Linked DNA regions of Homo sapiens: region 1 is linked to region 2. Evidence: promoter capture Hi-C in 16 types of primary human blood cells and fetal thymus (Javierre and others, 2016). All regions are on one chromosome and are shown on one strand. Each heading gives the region's core, a stretch centred on a gene start or on the middle of the fragment in contact. The rest is flanking DNA. Distances are from core to core; before and after follow the strand shown. Region 1 overlaps HECTD4 (HECT domain E3 ubiquitin protein ligase 4). Region 2 holds the start of TMEM116 (transmembrane protein 116).

Region 1 (5,676 bases), core at 3,041-5,540, 340 kb before region 2:
CCGGCGCGGTGGCTCACACCTGTTATCCCAGCACTCTGAGAGGCCAAGGCGGGCCTGAAGTCAGGAGTTCTGAGACCAGCCTGGCCAACATGGCGAAACCCTGTCTCTACTAAAAAACACAAAAATTAGCTGGGCCTGGTGGCACGCACCTGAATTCCAGCTACTCTGGAGGCTGAGGCAGGAGAATGGCTTGAACCCGGGAGGCGGAGGTTGCAGTGAGCCGAGATAGCGCCACTGCACTCCAGCCTGGGTGACCCAGCAAGACTCCATCTCAAAAAAAAAAAAATTAAAATCCCATTTGGCAAACCCTTAACCTTATGCTTATTTAAATATAGCATAGAATAAATATTTGACCTGTAGGGCAGCGCTCATCTTTGTTTTGAGTCTAGTTTTTATTTGTACAAAGGCTCAAATTCTTAATATTTATGATGATTTGAAATTGAACTAGGATTGGAATAACCAGCATAGACCATGGTTGAGAATATAATTTTTTGGTGGTGACCCAAAATAATTTGAGATTTGAAGTGTTGCTGTGTGTATGTGTGTTTGTGCGTGCGTGTGTGTGTGTGTGTTGTTGTTTTGTTTTGTTGAGACAGTCTGCTCTGTTGCCCAAGCTGGTGTGCAATGGCGCAATCTTGGCCCACTGCAATGTCTGCCTCCTGGGCTCATGCAATCCTCCTCCCTCAGCCTCTCAAGCAGCTGGGACTACAGGTGTGTACAACCACACCCAGCTAATTTTATATCTTCTGTAGAGACGAGGTTTCACCATGTTTGCTCAGACTAGTCTCAAACTACTGGCTGCTCCTTGGTTTTAATAGAAGCATTATGAATAACATACCCAGGTTTTTCCCTCTTTCTGTCTCTTTTAGGAGGCAGGGTGAAGAATTTCAAACCAATGGATTAAAAAAAGACACTATTGGGTGATAGGTCACACCTGTAATCCCAGCACTTTGGGAGCCCTAGGCAGGAGGATGCTTGAGCCTAGGAGGTCAAGACCAGTCTTGGCAACATGGCGAGATCCTGCTTTTACAAAAAATTAAAAAATTAGCTGGTCACGGTAGTACGTGCCTACTCAAGAGGCTGAGGTGGGAGGATTGCTTGAGCCTGGTAGGTCGTGGCTGCGGTGAGCTGTGTTCACGCCACTGCACTCCAGCCTAGACAACAGAGCGAGACCCTATCTCAAAAAAAATCAAAATAAAAAATAAAAATCTATTATTATTATTATTCTTAGAGGTAGGTTCTTGCTGTGTTACCCAGACTGGCTTTGAACTCCTGGGCTCAAGTGACTGTCCTACATCTGCCTCCTGAGTAGCTGGGCAACAGGCATGCACCACTGTGCTGGCTAAAAACCACTATTATTAATCCTGTCGAGCACATATTCCATTTTGGCAAATGTTAACTGATGAGATTAAAATTACCCTTCACATTAATAAAGTTCTATTTCTATAATATTTTCAGCAAGCAAGTGGATTCTATGAGGACAGGAAATGATTCTTCTAGCCTAACTTTTTAAAGCTGAAGTTTAGAACTTATTTTGGGTTTTTCTTTGATGCATGAAAGGATCTGGTTGTAGTTTCCCACCACACCCAGCTAATTTTGTATTTTTAGTAGAGATGGGGTTTTACCATATTGGCCAGACTGGTATCGAACTCCTGACCTTGTGATCCACCCTCCTTGTTCTCCCAAAGTCTGGGATTACAGGCATGAGCCACCACACCCCGCCTGTAGTTTCTTAAAATGACTCATCTCTATTCAACCAGTCATTGTTGAAACTCAGGAAAGAGCCACATTTTACAAAATATAAAAGACAATACGAAGCTGACTTTTTTTAGTAATATATGTTCTTCTATAAGAGAAATGACAAAAACAAAATAGTCTGTACATGGGTTAATAATTTTAGAGCCTTTTCTCTCAGTAGCATGTTTAGAATTTAGGGAAATAAGACAGGTTTGATAAAATATCCATTAGCCTAGAAAGATACTTAGAAAGAATCCCTCACCTGTTCTTTAAGTTGCCCCTTGATTGTAATGAAGCCATGTGCTCATTCTTGGAACGCAGAGCTGTCAAGAAACATCATCAGACATAGTTTTAACCTGGTAATGGTGGCTGCCAGTCAGGTGGCTGTCAGTCAGCTCCTTGGTTCTTATGAAATTCTTCTGCTGGTTTCCATAGAGTTGATGTTCTGTTTTGGTCTGGGGTAAAGCAAGGACTTAGTCTTTGTTATGGATGTTTGCTAACAGGAAATCAATGATGCTTCTAGCCTTTTGGCAACTGACTTATAGGAATTCTGAAGTTTTCTTCATTACAGACAAGGTCTCATCACAAGCCAGAATGATGGTTGTCTTATTTTAAAACACTTATGTTGGGCTGGTTGTGGTGTCTCATGCCTGCAACCCCAGCACTTTGGGAGGCTGAGGCAAGAGCATAACTTGAGCCCTGGAGTTCGAGACCAGCCCTGGCAACATAGCGAGACTCTGTCTCTACAAAAAATCAAAAAACTAGCTGGGCATTTTGGCATATACATGTGGTCTTAGCTACTTGGGAGGCTGAGGTGGGAGGATTGCTTGAGCCCAGGAGGTTGAGGCTGCAGTGAGCTGTGATGGCACCACCGTACTTCAGCCTGGGCAACACAGCAAGACCTTGTCTCAAAAAAGAAGGGAAAAAAATGATGTCTTTGGGAGGCTGAGGTGGGCAGATCACCTGAGGTCAGGAGTTCGAGACCAGCCTGGCCAACATGGTAAAACCCTGTCTCTACTAAAAATATAAAAATTAGCTGGGCGTAGTGGCAGGCACCTGTAATCCCAGCTACCCGGGAGGCTGAGGCAGGAGAATCGCTTGAGCCCAGGAGGCGGAGGTTGCAATGAGCCGAGATTGTGCTGCAGCACTCCAGCCTGGGCAACAAGAGCAAGACTCTGTCTCAAAAAAAAAAAAAAAAAGATGCTCCATCCACAGATATTCTAAGGTAACCAGACTGGGATGAGACCAACTCATTAGTCTCGTTTAAAAGCTCTCAAAGCAATTCTAATATTCAGCCAGGGTTGAGAACAGCTACCCTAACTCATATTCTTCTGATGTCCCCTCCTCGCCACCATAGGTATTTTCTTCATCTAATTGAAACGTTCTTATGTGCAAGAGCATACCCTGTCTCAAAAAAATTTAAAAAATTAAAAAGCAAAAGCTTCTTAATAGGAAAAGTTATTAGTTTCCCTATAACTGCATATGCATTTATATGAGAGCTCCTCAGCCTTCTCACTACCCATAGTGTGGTAGTTTTGCTGAATATCTGTTAAATTGAATGAAAACACCAAAATAGGAAAGTGAAGGGAAATGGTAGGCCATATTCATTCTGTCTTTGTTTTAAAGATTAAGAAACTGAATAACAGAAAGATTAGTGACTGAGATGACTGAGATACTTTGGGTTAGAATTTTTGCCTTTTAAACATGCCGACAGTAATTTTATCTATTAGGCTATGTTACTACGTAGGTACTTATGCCATCCTTGGTAGTAAAATCTTTATGTCAGTCAGTGTAGCATAAAAAAAGTAAAAATAGTCATTTATGATCTTCCATGATTTATCTGTAGCTTTAATGCAAGAAGACAACTAAACACACTAAATTAACACCTTTCACTTTTACCCCTTGCCTAGAAATTTGTATTTATTAAAGCATGATATTTATTTAGCCACTATGAATAGTTTATAGACAGACCTGGAAATTTATAGATTTGTCTTTGTTGGAATACTTGCTTAAACAGACTTGTTTCCTAAACCACTGGCCTGGTTTTCTACTATTAAAAGATTATTTAAATTGGTTACCTAGAGAAGATCTCCATGCTGTTATGAGCCATATTTTGAGATAGGAGAAGGAAGCCCAGCCATACTCCCTTATCTGTGTCCTGGCAGATGCAAACCTGCCCTGCCCTGCACATTTGGTTAGAGATGATAGTGCCAAACCACCACTTCTGACGCGATCATGAGGCTGGTCTCCTTGTCTCCTTTGTGCACAGGGACTGCTCATCTTACAGTAAGCTTCTATTTGGAAGCAAGAGATTTGAATTCTTTGAAAACATTGATAAAGCAAGTCAGGAGGGGAGTGCAGGGACTGGCTATTTGATATACCTACACAGAAAGCTAGGTACAGATCTTCAGATCTGCAAGACATGGGAAATAAACCCTTACCCAAACCAAACATGTCTTCCTCTGTAGAATATGAAACGAGGTGGCCAGTGACCAAGCTGACCACACATTTTGAATGAAAGTGATGATGTATGCTGCCATTCACACTCCAGTAGATTTCTGACATGGAATTAAGCTCTTTTTTAGGGAGACTAATGGGCCCTTAATTTAAATTGAGCCATACTTGCATTTGGTTCTAATCTACTGAGCTAGCCACATTAGCCAAAGAGTTGACCTAGCCCTGTCACTGACACCAGTAACCAGGAGAACAAAGTGTAGTGAATTGTGTGGCCAAAAGTACTGGCACCATAAATCAGAGCAAGCTGTATGTGGAGAATGAACATTGAGGGTGTGTCTTGCTGGCAACCTTAAGCTTTTAAAATTGTATTATTTTTTCTTATGATGAAATAAAGTCTTACTCACTTGAGGGACACTATAAAGATATTTGATTCTTTGAAGATTAGAAAAATGAATTCATCCAAGAACACTAAAACTTGTTAGATAAAAATATACTGACAGATTGGGGAGGGCCTGTTTGACTTCATTGGCTTCATGTGTAGCGTTAGTACATATCCTTAATAAAGAAAAACAACATGGGTACTTTAAACCTCTCAGAAGCAGATTCTTGGGTAGAATACTTAAAAGCTTATGAGAACATGACGATGCTGCTCTAAAATCAATGAAGCCAAAGCAAGAGAAGTTATACAAAATAATATTATTTCTGATAACACATACTGTTTCCCCAGAAATGATTATTACCTCCTTTTAGCATATCATGAGAATGGCACGTTTATTTTGAGTTTAGAGTTCTAAGAAGACATTTGGTATCCAAATAAAAAGTATCGTATGGCTGGGTGTGGTGGCTCATGCCTGTAATTCCAGCACTTTGGGAGGCCAAGGCACGAGATGACTTGAGCCCAGGAGTTCAGCCTAGGCAACATGGCAAGAACCTGTCTCAACAATAAAATAAATTAATTAGCCAGGCATGGTGGTGCGCGCCTGTGGGACCAGCTACATGGGAGGCTGAGGCAGGAAAATCACTTGAGTCCAGGAGTTTGGGGCTGCAGTGAGCTGTGTTTGTGCCACTGCACTCCAACCTGGGCAACAGAATGAGGCCCTGTCTCAAAAAAAAGAAAAAGAAAAAGAAAAATATCATATTATTGATAGCCTTTCCAAAAAATATGAACATTTACAGAAATATAAAATTATTCAATGTGTTCCCAGTCTGTTTTATTTCTTTTCTAGAATTAAGTAGGCTCCTTAAATCAAACTAATTTTTCTCCTTTGCTTTCAGCCCTTGCCAAAAATAAAATCCTCCTACACCTGTTCACCCATTTTTACTCCATAACACTCCAGGCACTGTTTCCAGGAAAAGGTTGAAATTAAGAATAATGTATTTCCTGCTGACCACCATATTTGTACTGCCGTAGTTGCATTCTGTGCCAATTTTTTTTTTTGCCATCTGTTCTCAGCATGAGATTGAGATTCATATAACAAGAGG
Region 2 (5,600 bases), core at 2,077-4,576:
ATTCATTCGTTCATTGAGTAAAAAGTTACTAAAGGCCTGCCAGGCACCATACTAAGTGAACACAGCAGGGAACAAAATGGCATCTCTTAGCTCATGAAACTAACATTCTAGTGATGGTGAAGGGAAAGAAACAACAACAAAAAAGATACTGGAAATCACTGAAAGGCAAAGCATGGAACAAGGCTGCCAGACAGAACACTAGTACATTTCCTTTTGGTTCAGTCGTGATGGAAGAGAAGATTTGAAAAGAGACTGGAGAAAACGTTTGTTCATTCACGCAACAAAATAGTTATTGTGCACCTTCTATGAGACAGGTAATCTGTTATGCAGCGCAGACGATCAGGAACAAAATAGACAAGGAGCTTCTTCATGAGCACATAATATTCCAGTGAGAGAGAAAGATGGCAAAATAGATTTTTAAAAAATCAGTGATGAGTGCTGTATGGAGAAATAAAACAGATTAATGTGACTGGCACTTTAGACTGGGGGGAAGATAAATCAAGGAAGAACTCTAAGGAGGAAACACTTAACCTAAGCCCGAATGATGAGAAGTAACTAACTAGCCTTTCAAAGTTTGGGCAGAGAATATTCCAGTCACAAGGAACAACTAGTGCAACATATCCTAAGGCAGTAAAGAGCAAGGAATATTCAAAAGACAGTAGGAGAATGGTTGGGAGATGAGAGGGAAGCCAGGAGTCAGGTCATATAGAACTTAGGCTACTGTGTGGAGACTCAAGAGTGGAAGCAGGGAGACCAGAGAAGAGGCTATTGTAATGTTGACCTAGACTAGGGTGGTAATAGTAGAAAACACTGTTAGCTTTATGGCGCAAAGTTTCCCTTTGGGTCACACTTGTTCTGTGATATTATCTGATTCCCATGGAGCAGGGTGGGGTAGGGGTGTCATTTTGCCAGTAAAGGCCCCCAAAGCATAGGGTGCTGTAGGGTGTGTCTGAGCATGCCTGACAACCAATCAGCCACACCTACACCATTTTTTTTTTTTTTGAGACAGAGTTTTGCTCTTGTTGCCCAGGCTGGAGTGTCATGGCATGATGACGGCTTACTGCAACCTCCACCTCCCAGGTTCAAGCAATTCTCCTGCCTCAGCCTCCCGAGTAGCTGGGATTACAGGCACCCGCCACCACGCCCAGCTAATTTTTGTATTTTTAGTAGAGACAGGGTTTCACCATGTTGGCCAGGCTGGTCTCCAACTCCTGACCTCAGGTGATCTACCTGCCTCAGCCTCCCAAAGTGCCGGGATTACAAGCATGAGCCACCGCACCCAGCCCACACTTTTTTTTTTTTTTTTGAGACGGAGTATTTGCTCTGTCGCCCAGGCTGGAGTGCAGTGGCGTGATCTTGGCTCACCGCAACCTCCGCCTCCTGGGTTCAAGCAATTCTCCTGTCTAAGCCTCCCGAGGAGCTGGGACTACAGGTGTCCACCACCACGCCCAGCTAATTTTTGTATTTTTAGTAGGGACGGGGTTTCACCTTGTTGGTCAGGCTGGTCTCAAACTCCTGACCTCAGGTGATCTACCCGCCTCAGCCTCCCAAAGTGCTGGGATTACAGGCGTGAGCCACTAAGCCCGGCCTACACTTTTAAATTCTTGAAACTTTGCCTTGAATGAGCTGCAAGTGCCAAATCCACGACAGGGAACGCTTGAAAATAGGAGACTTCAACCACTGGAGACAACTACTTCTTGGTTTCACTTCCCCACAATGAGTACAAAACCTGAAAATGAAATGACTGGCTCTCTCGCAACACTAAGCTTGCCCATCTCCTAGAGGAAGTTAAAAGCTGCTCGTGGGTGAAGACAGGTGCAAGAGGAGGGGACTGGGACTGCGGTGTTGCATTCAGCCACCATTTCCAACCGTCCATTTACTCAGGCCAGGATCCCTAATTCTGCAAAAATGGAAGGGGGGAAAGGCGGAGGTAGTGGCAAATTCTTCCATGCCTTGACCCAATTTTACTGATTTTGTTGCCAACCCCAAGATGTTTCCTACAACAGCTATCCCCAACCTTTTTGGCACCAAGAACTGGTTTCATGGAAGACAACTTTTCCACGGGGTTGGGTGGTTTCGACATGAACCTGTTTCGCCTCAGATCATCAGGCATTAGATTCTGATAAGAAGCACACAACCTGGATCCCTCACATGCGTAGTTCACAATAAAGGTCGTGCTCCTATGAGAATGTAATGCCGCAGCTGATGTAACAGGAGGCGGAGCTCAGGCTGTAGTGCTAGCTCGCCTGCCGCTCACCTCCTGCTGTGCGGCCCGGTTTCTAACAGGCCACCGACGGGCCTGGTGGTTGGGGACCCCTGCTTTACAGGGTGGCTGAACTGAAGCTTATTCTTCACGCTTGCACTATTCAAGATGTATGATATCTGATCATTGTTTGCACACTGCAAAGCAGGCTGCAATCCAACCCTGGGAAGAGGGGCGCGGACACGCAGGCTAACGCGCCTGCATTTCCCCCCGCCAACCCCTCCCAGCTTCCACAGCCGGGAGCCCGGTGGCGTCGACCTCGCACCGCCCTCCGGTTCTCCCACTTGGGACTCGAGGGTTGGATCTCGCCAGGCACCGCCCTCTCCCCACAGGTGAAGGGAAGGGGCACCCAGTTCCCTCGGCTGCATCTTTGCAAGGGTGGATGCAAGTATAAATGCTGCAAAAGCAAGGGTGCGCCGGGGCCCTGAAGCGTGCATGCCCGGTGGTCATAACATTCTCCGCTCAGAGTCCACTAGGCCTGTAGGACGCCGGGAAGCTCTGGGACCGTTGCTACAGACCACCTCCCGTCAGCTCCCGGAATCCAGCGTCTCCCCACGGGCGCGCGCTCTTCCGGGCGCCCCGGCGGCACCTGCGCGCGACGTCCCCCGCCCCGGTTACCTTGTAGAAAGTGACCGTATCCAGGGGAAGGGCGCCCTTGGTGTGCAGGCCGCTGCCGCCATGCGGAGCGGAGAGGAGCAGGAAGCCCAGGAGAAGGGGAAGCAGCGGGGAGAGAAATGCGGCGCGGGGCACAGCGGCAGCCATATCGCCGGGTTCCTGCAGAGGGAGGTAGGTAAGCGATAGTGGAGAACGCCCCGAGTCAGCGGTCACGTGACTGGGGGGGCGGACTCACGCGCGCTCACGTGGACACCCCAGGAGGCTCCCATCTGTCTAGGGTGAGAGGGTGGGGCCACGTGAGGGGCGGGGCGAGGGAGGGGAAGCTGCTGCGCACGCGTACTCGGCGAAGCTCGCGTAGGGCCTGGGTAAAAGGGCGGGGCCACGTTGCGGGCGGGAAAATGGGCTCCTGCGCGCGCGCACTCGCCGAGTCTTCCGGCGGGTCCGCCCAGTTCCGTTCCTGCTCCGCTTGAGGAGAAGCGCCAAGTGCGCATGGGGACGCTATAGCAATTCGTTTGCTGTCCTTCCTCTCCTTCGAAGATGACAAGGCCTACCATCGTTTCTTCCTGCCTTTGGGCCGTCAGGCAGTTGGTTGGGACCCGCTCCAACCCTCGGTCAGTCTATTAGTCAAGTTCAGCCGTTATTCTCAGTCAGGCTCCGTCACCACCCTGACCCAGGCGGGCAGTGGCTCCGCGGCTTCCCTGAGCTTTTTGGCCAGGCTTGGCGGTCAGTGTGGCAAGCAGGGCCCTCTTAGGCCCGATCTGAGGTGAGCGCCTCCCCTGGGAGACGCCAGGCTCCTGGGATCCGCCCAGCCAAGGCCCACCCTCCAGGAACCCCAGACGCAATTCTAATCATTCTGTTCCGCAGGTAGTCACTCGGTCCCTGGCTTGTGCCAGACTCTGGCTTTGCCTGCGGGGCTACGGAATAAGCAGAAACAAGACCGTTGTGTGCTGAAGGCACGCACTTTGTTGGGGGAGGAGGCGGCATAGGAATAATGATCTAAACAGTGCAGTGTAATTGCTGTAAAATATTATTCCGGCTGGGCGCGTTGACTCACGTCTGTAATCCCAGCACTTTGGGAGGCCGAGGCAGGTGGATTACCTGAGGTCAGGAGTTCGAGACCAGCCTGGCCAACATGGTGAAACCCCGTTTCTACTAAAAATCAGGCGAGTGTGGTGGTGCGTGCCTGTAATCCCAGCTACTCAAGAGGCTGAGGCAGGAGAATTGCATGAACCCAGGAGGCGGAAGTTGGGGTGAGCCGAGATTTCGCCATTGCACTTCAGCCTAGGTGACAGAGCGAGACTCAGTCTCAAAAAGAAAAAAAAAGACCGTATTTTCTTATTGTAAAGAGACAGAGATTCAGCCATCCCTGCTCAGGAGCATCAGAGGAAGTTGTAGACAGGAGGTGACTTTTGAGCTGGACCTTGAAATAAGAGGGGGCGTGCATGAGGCAAAGAGAAACAGGGCATTTCTAACAATGGGAAAATTATGCACAGGCATGTTGGGGAACTGGTTGAGATGAATCTATGTAAAGGCGAACTGGCGCAACAGCTGCTGCCGCTCTTTTTTATTTTGATTGATTATTACTGAGCTTCCATGGGGCGGATTCGAAAGGGTCTCACCAAGCTAAAGGGTTTGGAGTCACCAGAAGTTTTAACTAGGAGAGTGAGGTTAGATTTGTGTGTAGAAACAGCACCCAGGTCAGCCTGGGCAACGTAATGAAACCTCGTCTCTACAATAAGTAGAAAAATTAGCCATGTGTGGTAGTGCATGCCTGTGGTCCCAGGTACTTGGGAGGCTGAGGCAGCAGGATCACTTGGACCTGAGGGGTCGAGGCTGCAGTCAGCCCTGATTGCTGCCACTGCACTCCAGTCTGGGCAACAGAGAAGACTGTCTCAAAACAAAAACAACATTACTCAGGAATGAAGGAAATGGATTGGAATTGAGAAGACGGGACTAAAGCCAATTAATGGGGTATGGCAATAGTCTAGTTGGAAGAGGTTAAGGTCATGCAGTAGGACATAATAGGGCTGAAGAAGTATGGATGGAATTGACAAACTTTTAAAGGGTAGAATTCACAAGATTTGATGAACAAATGCATGTAAGAGAACATATACAATGCATTGTAAGGGACTTACTGCTATAATTAACCATTGTATGTTTCCAAAATGTATGTGTATAAATAGTCAACAGTGATAACAGGATCCAATCATGGACAACCAGTTTGATTGGATATAAATTTTGAAAGAAAGTGTGTGTGTGTTTGTGTGTGTGTATGTGTGAATGTGTCTGGGGAAGTTAAGAAAAATTTTGAGTTTGCCCTATTGATGGCAGCCAGCTGCAGCAGGGAGGTGTGACTGGGGCTGCACACTCCATGGAGCCTGTGGGAGCCCCGCCCCTTCTGAGTTGAGGCAGGAGCCCCTGGTGCCATTGTGGCTGCCCTCCCAGGTGCAGGACCTGGGCATCTCTGCAGCCTGCACCCTTGGGGGACCAGCAAGACACCCTACTGCAATCCCTGCAGGCTCAGGAGTGTCTGTTCCCACCGCCTGGACTCTCTCTACTCCCGGGGCCTGCTCCAATCTCAGAGCGGGCTTGGGGCCAAGAATGGCAATGGGAGGCAGATTGATTCCAGGGTAGAAGTGGGTGAGTCCCCAGTAAGACCCCACCTTCAGGTCAGGGAGGGCCTGAAGACAGGGGTCCAGGCTGCCAGTCCTGCAGACTGGAG

The links. Contacts are between HindIII fragments. The CHiCAGO score rates a contact against its expected background, and 5 or more counts as called.
Region 1: a contact is called between a fragment that was not itself captured here and the fragment with the promoter of TMEM116 in region 2, in 1 of 17 cell types (endothelial precursors). The highest score is 5.2, in endothelial precursors.

Annotation. Positions count from the first base shown.
Region 1 is chr12:112,349,596-112,355,271 of GRCh38, reverse strand. All of the region lies in intron 1 of HECTD4 (HECT domain E3 ubiquitin protein ligase 4), which reads left to right. Among named protein-coding and RNA genes, the nearest start is that of HECTD4, 30 kb to the left of the region's middle. The HindIII fragment of the contact is 520 bases long and covers 4,031-4,550 here.
Region 2 is chr12:112,010,891-112,016,490 of GRCh38, reverse strand. TMEM116 (transmembrane protein 116) reads left to right here and starts at 3,326. Exons shown (of 11, transcript NM_001193531.2): 1 at 3,326-3,489. It overlaps ERP29 (endoplasmic reticulum protein 29), which reads right to left and starts at 3,065. Exons shown (of 3, transcript NM_006817.4): 1 at 2,882-3,065. The coding sequence starts at 3,025. RefSeq lists enhancers at 1,592-1,731, 3,402-3,591, 3,462-4,350, 4,855-5,368 and silencers at 2,732-2,821, 3,162-3,241. The HindIII fragment of the contact is 12,495 bases long and covers 2,346-5,600 here.